Linked DNA regions of Homo sapiens: region 2 is linked to region 1. Evidence: promoter capture Hi-C in 16 types of primary human blood cells and fetal thymus (Javierre and others, 2016). All regions are on one chromosome and are shown on one strand. The core of a region is centred on a gene start or on the middle of the fragment in contact, and the rest is flanking DNA. Distances in the headings are between cores, read along the strand shown.

Region 1 (5,067 bases), core at 1,706-4,205:
AGTAAAATGCTGAAAGCACCCAGGATGGTGGAGGCATGAATTAGGAATCCTAGAAAAGAGATCCGAGAGCTTTAAAACTTAATATGGCTACACACCCGCTAAAATAGCTAAAATTACAGAGACTGACAATATCAAAATGTTAGCAGGGATATGGAGCAACAGGAACTCCCATGTATCTTCATTGGCGGGATGGTAAAATGATACAAGCATTTTTCAGTATATGTGCTGCTGAAGCCAGCACTCCTTTTTTTTTTTGAAACGGAGTTTCACTCTTGTTGCCCAGGCTGGACTGCAATGTCGCAATCTCGGCTCACTGTAACCTCCCTCTCCCAGGTTCAAGCGATGATTCTCCTGCCTCAGCCTCAGCCTCCCCAGTAGCTGGGATTACAGGTGCCTGCCACCACGCCCAGCTAAGTTTTGTATTTTTAGTAGAGACGGGGTTTCACCCCGTTGGCCAGGCTGGTCTCGAACCTCAGGCAATCCACCCGCCTCGGCCTCACAAAGTGCTGGGATTACAGGTGTGAGCCACCGCATCCGGCCCAGAAGCATTTTTTAAAACATAGTTTCTCACAAAACTGAAACATACAATTGCCCTATGACCTACTCAAACCAAGTCTAAGTATATAACCATGAAAGATAAAAGAGTAAGACCACAAAAAGACTTGTATAAGACTGTTCATAGTAACTAACTGCAAACAGCCCAGGTGACCTTCAACAGTGAATAGATTAATTATGGTATACACATACAGTGGAAAACTACACACTAATAAAAAGAAAGGAACTACTGATACACGCAACAAAGACGAAACTCAAAAACATTATGCTGAGTGGGAAAAAAAAGCCTTACCCAGAAAAATACACACAGTACTATAGGCTCTATGGGATCCCATTTAATGTTAAGTTCTAAAACAGGCAACTCTGTAACTTAGGGCATAAAAAAAAAAAACTGGGTGGTTGATGGAAAGGCCAAGTGACTGAAATGACTGGGAAAAGGCAAGAAAAAACTTTCTAGTCAATTATAATGTTCTATATCTTGATAAGAGCTTGGGCTACACAGGTGTAAGCATTTATGAAAACTCACGGAATGGCAACCATATGCATTTCACTGCTGCCAAAATTACGTCAAAAAAACGTAAAAAATGAAGTTGAACTTAGGCAAATAAGTTCACAATGCTGAAGTGACATGTACTGGTGTCATCTACTGATACGTGCAACTTACTCTGAATTGCTCCCCAAAATTAAATGAACTTGATAATCGATTATAATACCGTAAAATGCTAATTGTAGATGATGGACATATGTGTATCCACTTCCCAATTCTTTCAACTTTCCGCATGCTTGAAAATACAAAAATGGTAAGGAAAATTTTTACAAGCACTGGGAGACAAAAACAAAAGTGATAATTCTGTTGGTGGTAAAAGTTTCTCTCATTTGATGTTACACACCTCACTGCTTCACAAAATACACTACCTTTGGAACTCGTTAAACCAATACCCCAATCACCTACTGTCCCTGGGGAAACTGATAGGTACATTTCAGGAATTGTTGTTTCCTGTCACCAACTGTTCACGTTGTTTGCGATCTTCAGAGATTAAGTCAGTAATTATGGAAAACACGACGTATTCAACAATACACTAAAATTATTTGTTAAATTCCACCAAGAATCTTAATTAACTGCAAGATTTGTATTCCTGAACCAAGTTTAAGTAATATTCTGCATTCACTCCGATTTTCTTTTATTTGATTGCAACCGCTAATATCAACATCGCTATCGCCCCTCTAAAATCAAACAAAAACCTACCCAATGATTGGCATCTAAGAGATGATAAACATACTAAAAGGGAAAGAGCAAGTCATCAGTGAAAGAAAGTCATTCACTTTTCTCCTTAAACCTAGTACTATCACTATTACTTAAGATGGAGCTAAAAACAGTTTCTACGTCATAATTTTTTTTTAAAGGTTGCAAGGTGGGAAAGATTTCAGGAGTTAAAATGCAGAACTAAATATACACATGCACCTCACCCCAAAACCCACCTTAACAAGCAGGCACGTAAAACAACGAGGATCCCACCCACCCCTTTTTAATTCATGAAACAAAACCGCAGCCTGAGCTAAAGCGAACCCTCGCCCCCGCCCAGCCTCCACCCCGCCCGGAGGCTGGCGGTGGGTCCCTTTCCTTTGTGAGGAGTTGGAGGGGAGGCGACGGAGGGCGGGGAACTGGGGGAGGAGGCTGAGGGTCGGCGGATACCAGAGAAGGAAGGCTCCGAGAAAAGCGGCATCAGCCCGTCCCACAAACAGGCCGCGCCGCCACGCCACAAACCATTGCGGTGTCCCAAGGCGCAAACCCACGAACTTGGGTGTGATCTAATTTGGGACGACGCCCGGGAGAATGGCCGAGGACGACCCCTCTCCCAGGCCCTTCCAAAAGGTCTCCTGGGGCGGCGGGCGGAGGTCCTGCCGCCACCCCCATCCCGGCCCGAGCCCCAGGCGGCCTCACCTGCTGGACGGAGCTATTCTCGGGCACGGCGAATTCCTCCTTTTCCTTCGGGGTCTTCACGGTGACTTTCATGATTTTGGGCTCCGCGGAGGCAGCGGCCGCGGGGGCGCCAGCACCTTCGGCTCCGGCGGCGCTATCCTGGGAGCCCGGAGGACCGCCGCTTTCACCACTCTCGGCCATGGCTGTGGCGGCGGCGGCGGCGGTGACTCAGGCAAGCAGGAGGGAGCAGGCGAGCAAGGAGGAGCCAGCAGACACCAGAGCCGGCAGGCCTGGACAGCGAAGAATGCAGAGCACGCCGCCTCAGTAGCAACGGGCGCAGGGCCACCGTAGCGGGTGTGGGGCCCCGGAGCTCGGTGCAGGCTCTGGCGCAGGCCCGGGTCAGGCGCTCGGCAGCCGCCGTGTGTTCAGGCGCCGCTCGCTCACACCGACATCCGCAGCAGCCACCGCTTCCTCCTCCCTGCCCCTTCCCCCACGTCCCTTCGCCGGCGCCGCGCGGAGCACGCCGGGTAACGCGCCTGGCGGCGTCGCCGAGTCATCCCCGGCTGGCGCGACTTTGAGCTCAGCCTGCGTGCCTTTTCCTTTCCCGCTCCATTGCCCAAAGTGCAGGCGAAGCCAGTGTGAAGGACTAAAAGCAAAATGGGGCGGGGTAGGTCAGTTCATGGTTTTTTTCCACTCCTTTCACCAAAAACTAAATCGCAGTTTCCAGTTAAGCGCTGTAACGGCGCACCGAGATGACGTCACGGTTAGCGAAATTACTAGAAAGGGACCAGTGGGCCCTGCGGCCGCGGCTGCGCCTGCGCGCTTGCTGTCCAGGTAGTCTCCCCACCTTACCTCATGCCCAGCTGGGCCGTGTTCACCCCTCCGCGCTGTCACAATCGCCTTGCCCTCCCTTGCCTCTCTGTCTACTCTGCGTTCCCCGCTGGGAGGAGGGTCTGGTGATAAAATAGCGGCGAGGTATTTTGTTATTTTAATATGCTTAGCGTTTGATATTTGGAGGGGTCGTATTGCCCTATGCGGGGGAGTTGGGGTAAGTTAATGGTGGAAAGGCCTCAGCACAACGAACAGAAAATGGAGTGAACGCCCGTGACTGCCCTGCGCAATCCTGCGGAGTCATTGCTTCATGGCCAGAGCTTATTTACCGCCCTCGGGTTAGCCCGGTTTGGTCAGACGATCAGTCAGGCAACCTGTATTGACAGTGGCCTCTGCTGCTACGATGACAGCTGTGCGCGAGCGCCCCCAGATTATCTGTGTGTAGGGCGGAACAGGGTGCCCGAGGAGTGTCCACCCAAATGGGACAATTTAATATAGTTGAGGTGTTCGCCTTATATTCTATCAAATTAAGTTACTGGTCAATTTCAGGCTTTAAGTGGCATTAAGGATAGTTCCAAAATTATTTTCAGTGTAATACAGAGAGAAATTATCTCTGAGAATCCTAATTTGAAATGACGTCATTGGCTTTTAAAGATGACTTGCAAGGAATGTACAAACCAGCCCATTATTAATCAATGTTGCACAATTTAAATCCTGACAGCCCACTATGACCCAAATCCGCAAAGATACATTCTGCCTTTCTGCTCCTAAGCCGTCCAACCCTGTTCTGAGAATAAATACTGTTACATAAACACGACTTTTTAGCAGAGCTCTATGGAATCTGGGTCTAAGAGAATCCTGAGGGTATCGATTTCAGTATAGACATCATTTGATATCACCTAAATTTCTGGCAGCATGGCTCAATAACAAGGCCTTCTGCTTAATGAAGGATGACTACTTGGTTATGTCCAGGTGTGAGATGATCACTGCTTCTAAAGCTAGAAAGTGCCACAACTGGACAACCAATCATTTGGAATTTCTTCCATATGTCTAAATAAAATTTCTCCTCAACTTCATTAGCTCCTCATTACCTGTTTTTCCCTGTCATGCTGTGTCTTACCTGCATGCTTTGCCTAGGCTGCCTTCCTCTACCTAGAATGACTTTCCCCTTGCCTTCACCTGTCTAACTTCTACTCATCCTGTATCACATGCCCCAGGAAGACTTCACTCCCTACCATTTAGAGATATGGTTTTTCCCTTGATTCTCCAACAAATACCGTGTGTGTGTGTGTGTGTGTGTGTGTGTGTGTGTCTGTCTCCCTGCATTTATGGACTTTGCAATTATCTGTGTCTACATTATTGTCTAAAAATGTTTGATGTGTGTGACACTATAAGGTAATAAGATTTACCTGTAAGAAGATACCATATAGTTATCCATTGTTATGGCACTTTTTAGATATAATCCTGACCTGCATGAGAATCGGAGGTGGGGGCACTATGGTGTAAATCAGAGATTAGTGAACTTTCTGGGAGGGCTAGATAGTAAATATTTGGTTGGTGCCAAAAAAAAAAATTTGCAAAAACCGCAATTATTTATGCATCAACCTAATATTTTAGGCTTTGTGAGCCACAGGATCTCGGTCTAAAACACTAAGCTATGCCCTTGTATCACAGAGTAATCATAGACAATACATACATGAATAATCATAGCTATGTTTACTAAAAACTCTACTTGCAAAACAAAAACAGACATAGGATCT
Region 2 (5,067 bases), core at 1,097-3,596, about 18 Mb after region 1:
TCTCAAGAATGATCTCAGGAAGCCTCCAACAGTTTCAGCCTCACACAGAAAATCTGGAAGATAAAAATCTGCTTCAATTCTAGTATTCAAAGAAATTCACCCTGATTAAAGTGTCAATTGCTGACTAGGACTTTGGCTTGGGAAATGGAACTTAGTATTTAAGACAATCCTTGGAGATTGGGGTGAAATCAGTTTTCCCTAAGACTTAATGGAATCAAAGTGCTATATGGATACATGAAAAAAATCCTGGTTCTGCTAAGGTGAGGGAAGGGGAATAGCTGTTGGGTAGATCACCAATAATGTCCACCAGACACTTACGTAGTACCAGCAATTGATTTATCACAATGTAACACACAAGTGATGATACTCAAATTAAACTATACTAGTGCTAAGGAACCAGTAAAGATTAGTGGGGATTATGGTAAACAAGAATAACATGATCTATTAATAAAAGAGAGCCACGCCAAGCGTGGTGGCTCATTGCCAGTAGCTGTGGCTCAGGCCTGTAATCTCAGCACTTTGGGAGGCTGAGGTGGATGGATCGTCCGAGGTCAGGAGTTTGAGACCGGCCTAGCCAACATGGCGAAACCCCATCTCTACTAAAAATACAAAAATTAGCCAGGTGTGGTGGCGTGTGCCTGTGATCCCACCCACTTGGGAGGCTGAGGCATGGGAATTGCTTGAACCTGTGAGGTGGAGTTTGCAGTGAGCCGAGATTGTGCCACTGCACTCCAGCCTGGGTGACAGAGTAAGACTCTGTCTCGAAAAAAAGAAAAAAAAAAAAAAAGAAGAAGCCACTACTTTGCTCTAAGCAATGTGACCATGCAAAAATATAACCCTTCTGTTGCAAGATCATCAACATTTTTTAGAGAAACTGATAATTTGGATTTTTATGTAAAATAGCCATATTTTAAATGTTGGCAACTAAGTTCATTTTTGTTCTTGTTTTTAACCACGCAGGACAGCCAATACTGTCTAAAATAAACAAAGCATAACTGTTGGCTAAATGCAGTCTGTGAACCTCTAGTTTTCTGGGCTAGAAAAACCATTACTTGCCATTCAGTAGTTCTATGAATGAAAGGCTTGCTAAGAGTAGAGGAACCAAAGAAGATGAGAGAATGAGTGTCATTGTCTCATACAATGCTTTTCGGCAGGTGTGTCCCCACTCACATGTTCTCAGGCTCCCACTTCACGGAATGAAATGTGAAGTCCACTTGGGGCCAGTTAATTCTTTCCAAGATAGTCAAGGTGTTCCACTGCCAGGCACCAGGAACACTTGTTTCCCTGGTGTTGACCATCTTACTTCATTTACAGGTAAGCCCTAGCAGGTACAGGGACAAAAGTCTTCACACTAACAGAAATCCAGTGTAGATTAGCTTCTTTTTTTCCCAAGATGCCTAAATTCTATTTTTTAAAAAAGATATAGCGATCATTCTTCCATTTCTAGACCCTTAGCTGACGTCATTAGGTAGTTTATCATAGTTCTGCGAGACATACAGCTTTTCATTAATAGGTTAGATTAATTACCGTCCTATCATTAAAACGCATTTAGTTTAACTGAATGGAAAATAGCAGTTTGTCATAAACTTAAAAAAAAAAATCAATGCTTAATTAGCTTAAAATAGACTAGTACTGAGATCAGAGACTGATTGGCGTTTATCTTTTCCCTGGACAATTTCTTGTTCCCAAAAAAGCACAAGGGCAGTAGTTGTCACTCCTGCTTACGCATTAGAATCTAGTGGATGGAAATGCGGGGTTTGGGGGGAGGAGATGAGGGGAACGCTTTTTTAAAAAAGCTTTTGTCCAGGCCAAGTGATTCTAATGTGTAGACAGGGCAGAATACCGCTCCCTGTGCGGGGGAAAAAATCCCCAACATCTGAAATTCCTCAAATCCCTCAGATTCTCTCCAGAACTCTTCATTTCAGCACGTAGGGGTACCAACGAACAATTTTCTGAGGTGTCTGAGGCTAGTCATGTCCCCGGAGATTGACGGGACCGTCAGCCAATCGGCCGTCTGAACGAGTGATGGCAACCCCAATGACAAGCAACAGAATGAGGAACTTTATCCCCGCAGAAAGACCAGATCGCAGTAGCAAAGGTCAACAAGTCAACAAAAGCCAAGGGCTCTCCGTCAGGCATCAGCGAGGCCCGAGTACTCTTAGAGGTCGTAGCCAGGAGAGGGTCCCGCGCTTGCCCAGCGTTGCTAGGGAGGCGGCGCTTGCTCAAGCTTCTCGTGCCCTCTCCGTACGTCACTTCCGCCCGGCGGGGTCTCATAGTCCTATGGGCTGGGTTGAAGCCACTTCCTTTTTTCTTTCCCTTTTTCCTCTCCGTGGCCCCGCCTCCCGGAAGTTCTGCCTTGTCTCCGCCGCGGGTCAGGGGTGAGAGCTGGAATCTCTGCACGGGCCTTGGTGAGTAACTGCTGCGAGTTCTGTTCCCGCGCGGCGCCAGTTCAAAGAACTTAGGTTAGATCACGCTTAGGGCCCAACAGGACTGTGCCAGGCCTCAGGAGTCTCCACCCTCTCCAGTTTTGGGGCCGTCAGTCTCCTGGGCCTGCAATTATCCACGCTGAGGCTGAGGTCTTTGGCTTTTAGCGAGTTGGATTGCAGCCTTGTTCTGCTTCTGTGTCTTCTCTCTCCAGGCGAGGTCCTACTGAGGTTGTTGCCAGCGATAGTCCTCTCCTGGAGCTTGAATTGGAAGCAGAGTAGTCTTGTTAGTCTCGGTGATGGCTGCGTTGTTTCCTGAAGTAGCCAAAGTGCTTTAGCATCCATTCCGCCTCCTTTGAGCACCCTGGGAGGTAGGCAGGGCAGACGAAAAATATATTCGTTAATATTGTGCAGTTGAGGAAACTGAAGCTCTTGGCGAATTCACTGTTTCAAAGCAACACGGCCTCTAACAGGCAGAACTGAAATTCGCACCCAGGTCTAACTAACGTAGGGTTGCATAAAACAGTGGAGAGAGCGTTTGGAAATAGGGAAAACACTGCAAACGTTAAAGAAGAGCTGGGGTTTCTGAGTGCTTACTTTGTGTTCGGCTTTGTGCCAAATTCTTTCTATAATTATATCATCCATTTTATTTTATAATAAGCATAGGAAGTATATACTGTGGTTATTTATTCCTGGGTTAGGAAACTGAGGCTTAGAGATGATAACTGACTTGTCTAGTACTAATGACTTTAGTAGGCATTTCACAGATCTCTTTCAGCTCTGTGATTCTTTCAACACTGTAGTATTAACTTCTGGCATAATCAAACTGCCCTTTTCTGATTTTGGCATTACAGGAAGAGAGATTCCAGAACTTTATTTTTGGTCTCTTCACCCTTTGCCCATTGTCTCATTTCTTATCACCATTCTTATCACCATCCTATTTAGAAATTTATAGTCATGTAAATTTAGCCTTGACTTTCTTTTTTTTTTTTTTTTGAGACGGAGTCCCGCTCTGTTGCCCAGGCTGGAGTGCTGTGGTGCGATCTCGGCTCACTGCAAGCTCCGCCTCCCGGGTTCAAGTGATTCTCCTGCCTTAGCCTCCCGAGTAGCTGGGACTACCGGCGCCCGCCACCACGCCTGGCTAATTTTTTGTATTTTTAGTAGAGACGGGGTTTCACCGTGTTAGGCAGGATGGTCTCGATCTTCTGACCTCTTGATCCGCCCGCCTCGGCCTCCCAAAGTGCTGGGATTACAGACATGAGCCACCGCGCCCGGCCCGCCTTGACTTTTACTCTACAATTTAATTTTTTTTTTTTTTCCTCAAAGAGAAATATGGAGATGGTTGTGGAATTAATGGATCCAGGTTAAAGGGTTGGCCAGAAAAGTTGCTAGTTTTTACTCTATTGTTTTACTCTATTGTTGCTTTGCTTACATATATTATGTCAGTTTCTGCCTTTTTTTCTATCAGGAAAACGACTGTCTTCTTCTGCCAAAATGTCAGGAATTGGAAATAAAAGAGCAGCTGGAGAACCTGGCACCTCCATGCCTCCTGAGAAGAAGGCAGCTGTTGAAGATTCAGGGACCACAGTGGAAACAATTAAGCTAGGAGGTGTCTCTTCAACGGTATGAGGAAACAGTGCCATGAAAGTGTGCTTGTCTTCTGTCAGTTGCAACTTGAAACTAAAAATTCATGGAAGCTTTCTGGAGTATGGGGAAGCTATTTGAAAAGAAGAGGGAAATAAAACAGGCTGAAAGTAGGTAAAATGATGTGGTAGTCAGTTCTAGAGGAGAGGTAGATTGATAGTTGTTCTTTGTTTTCAAGGTGTACTTATATTCTTTCGAGAATCTGGGAAGGTGGTGCCTGATACAACATTAACTATAGGTATTTAGCAGTGGGAAGATACACATTTATTTTTCATTCACTGAAAAAGTCAGTACCAGATTCTAAGAGACAGTTTAGCAATCATTGAGAGTATGGTGAAGAGTGAGAGTCTGAGACCAGATTGCCTGGAGTTGACTCTGAGCTGTACCACTTCCTAGCTGGCTGACCTTGTGTTATCCTTCCTTTGCCTGTTTTCTTGTCTGTAAAATGTAATTAGAGTACCTGCTACATTAGATTTTTATGCATATAAAATAAGAGTCCCTGTTAAGGGCTAACACTTTGCATTTAATATAGTAAATAGTCAATAAATGGGAGGCATTCATAGCTAATATTGGGCTAGATAATATAATGGTGCATAACATAGATATTATCCTTGCTCTTATGGAGCTGACAAAATGAGTATTATATACCAAAATCTCATAGTAATGTTATATATCTGTTAGACATCAGAAGTTTACAGGTTTTGATCTACGTCAAGATTTTGCTTTTTTGAAAATCAGACATGGGGATGTGATATTAAAATGTTTTACATTTTGTAAAATGCTTTACATTTGTATGGCTTGCAAAACCACATCTATTGCTTATTTGATTTTGAGGCTGAGGTTTATTTTAGAGAGGCTGATTTTTTTTTTTGAGTCAGAATAATAGGAACATTCATAGTGAGTTGTTGATGAAGTGTCATTTCTGAGGCTGCCTGAGGTTCTGGTACTTAATATTGCTGGCAGGAAGTGATTTTTGTTTTAGCACTGCCTTGCATCATGC

The links. The method cuts DNA at HindIII sites, captures the fragments that hold promoters and counts their contacts. A CHiCAGO score of 5 or more calls a contact.
Region 2: a contact is called between the fragment with the promoter of RNF20 here and the fragment with the promoter of UBQLN1 in region 1, in 2 of 17 cell types (total CD4 T cells and total B cells). The highest score is 6.6, in total CD4 T cells.

Annotation. Positions count from the first base shown.
Region 1 is chr9:83,705,003-83,710,069 of GRCh38, forward strand. It overlaps UBQLN1 (ubiquilin 1), which reads right to left and starts at 2,956. Exons shown (of 11, transcript NM_013438.5): 1 at 2,498-2,956. The coding sequence starts at 2,677. UBQLN1-AS1 (UBQLN1 antisense RNA 1) reads left to right here and starts at 2,833. Exons shown (of 2, transcript NR_135839.1): 1 at 2,833-3,310. RefSeq lists enhancers at 1,979-2,869, 2,637-2,706, 2,870-3,758. The HindIII fragment of the contact is 7,028 bases long and covers 1-5,067 here.
Region 2 is chr9:101,531,507-101,536,573 of GRCh38, forward strand. It overlaps RNF20 (ring finger protein 20), which reads left to right and starts at 2,347. Exons shown (of 20, transcript NM_019592.7): 1 at 2,347-2,408; 2 at 3,892-4,046. The coding sequence starts at 3,918. It also overlaps a transcript of PGAP4 not described here. RefSeq lists an enhancer at 2,089-2,218. The HindIII fragment of the contact is 1,893 bases long and covers 2,226-4,118 here.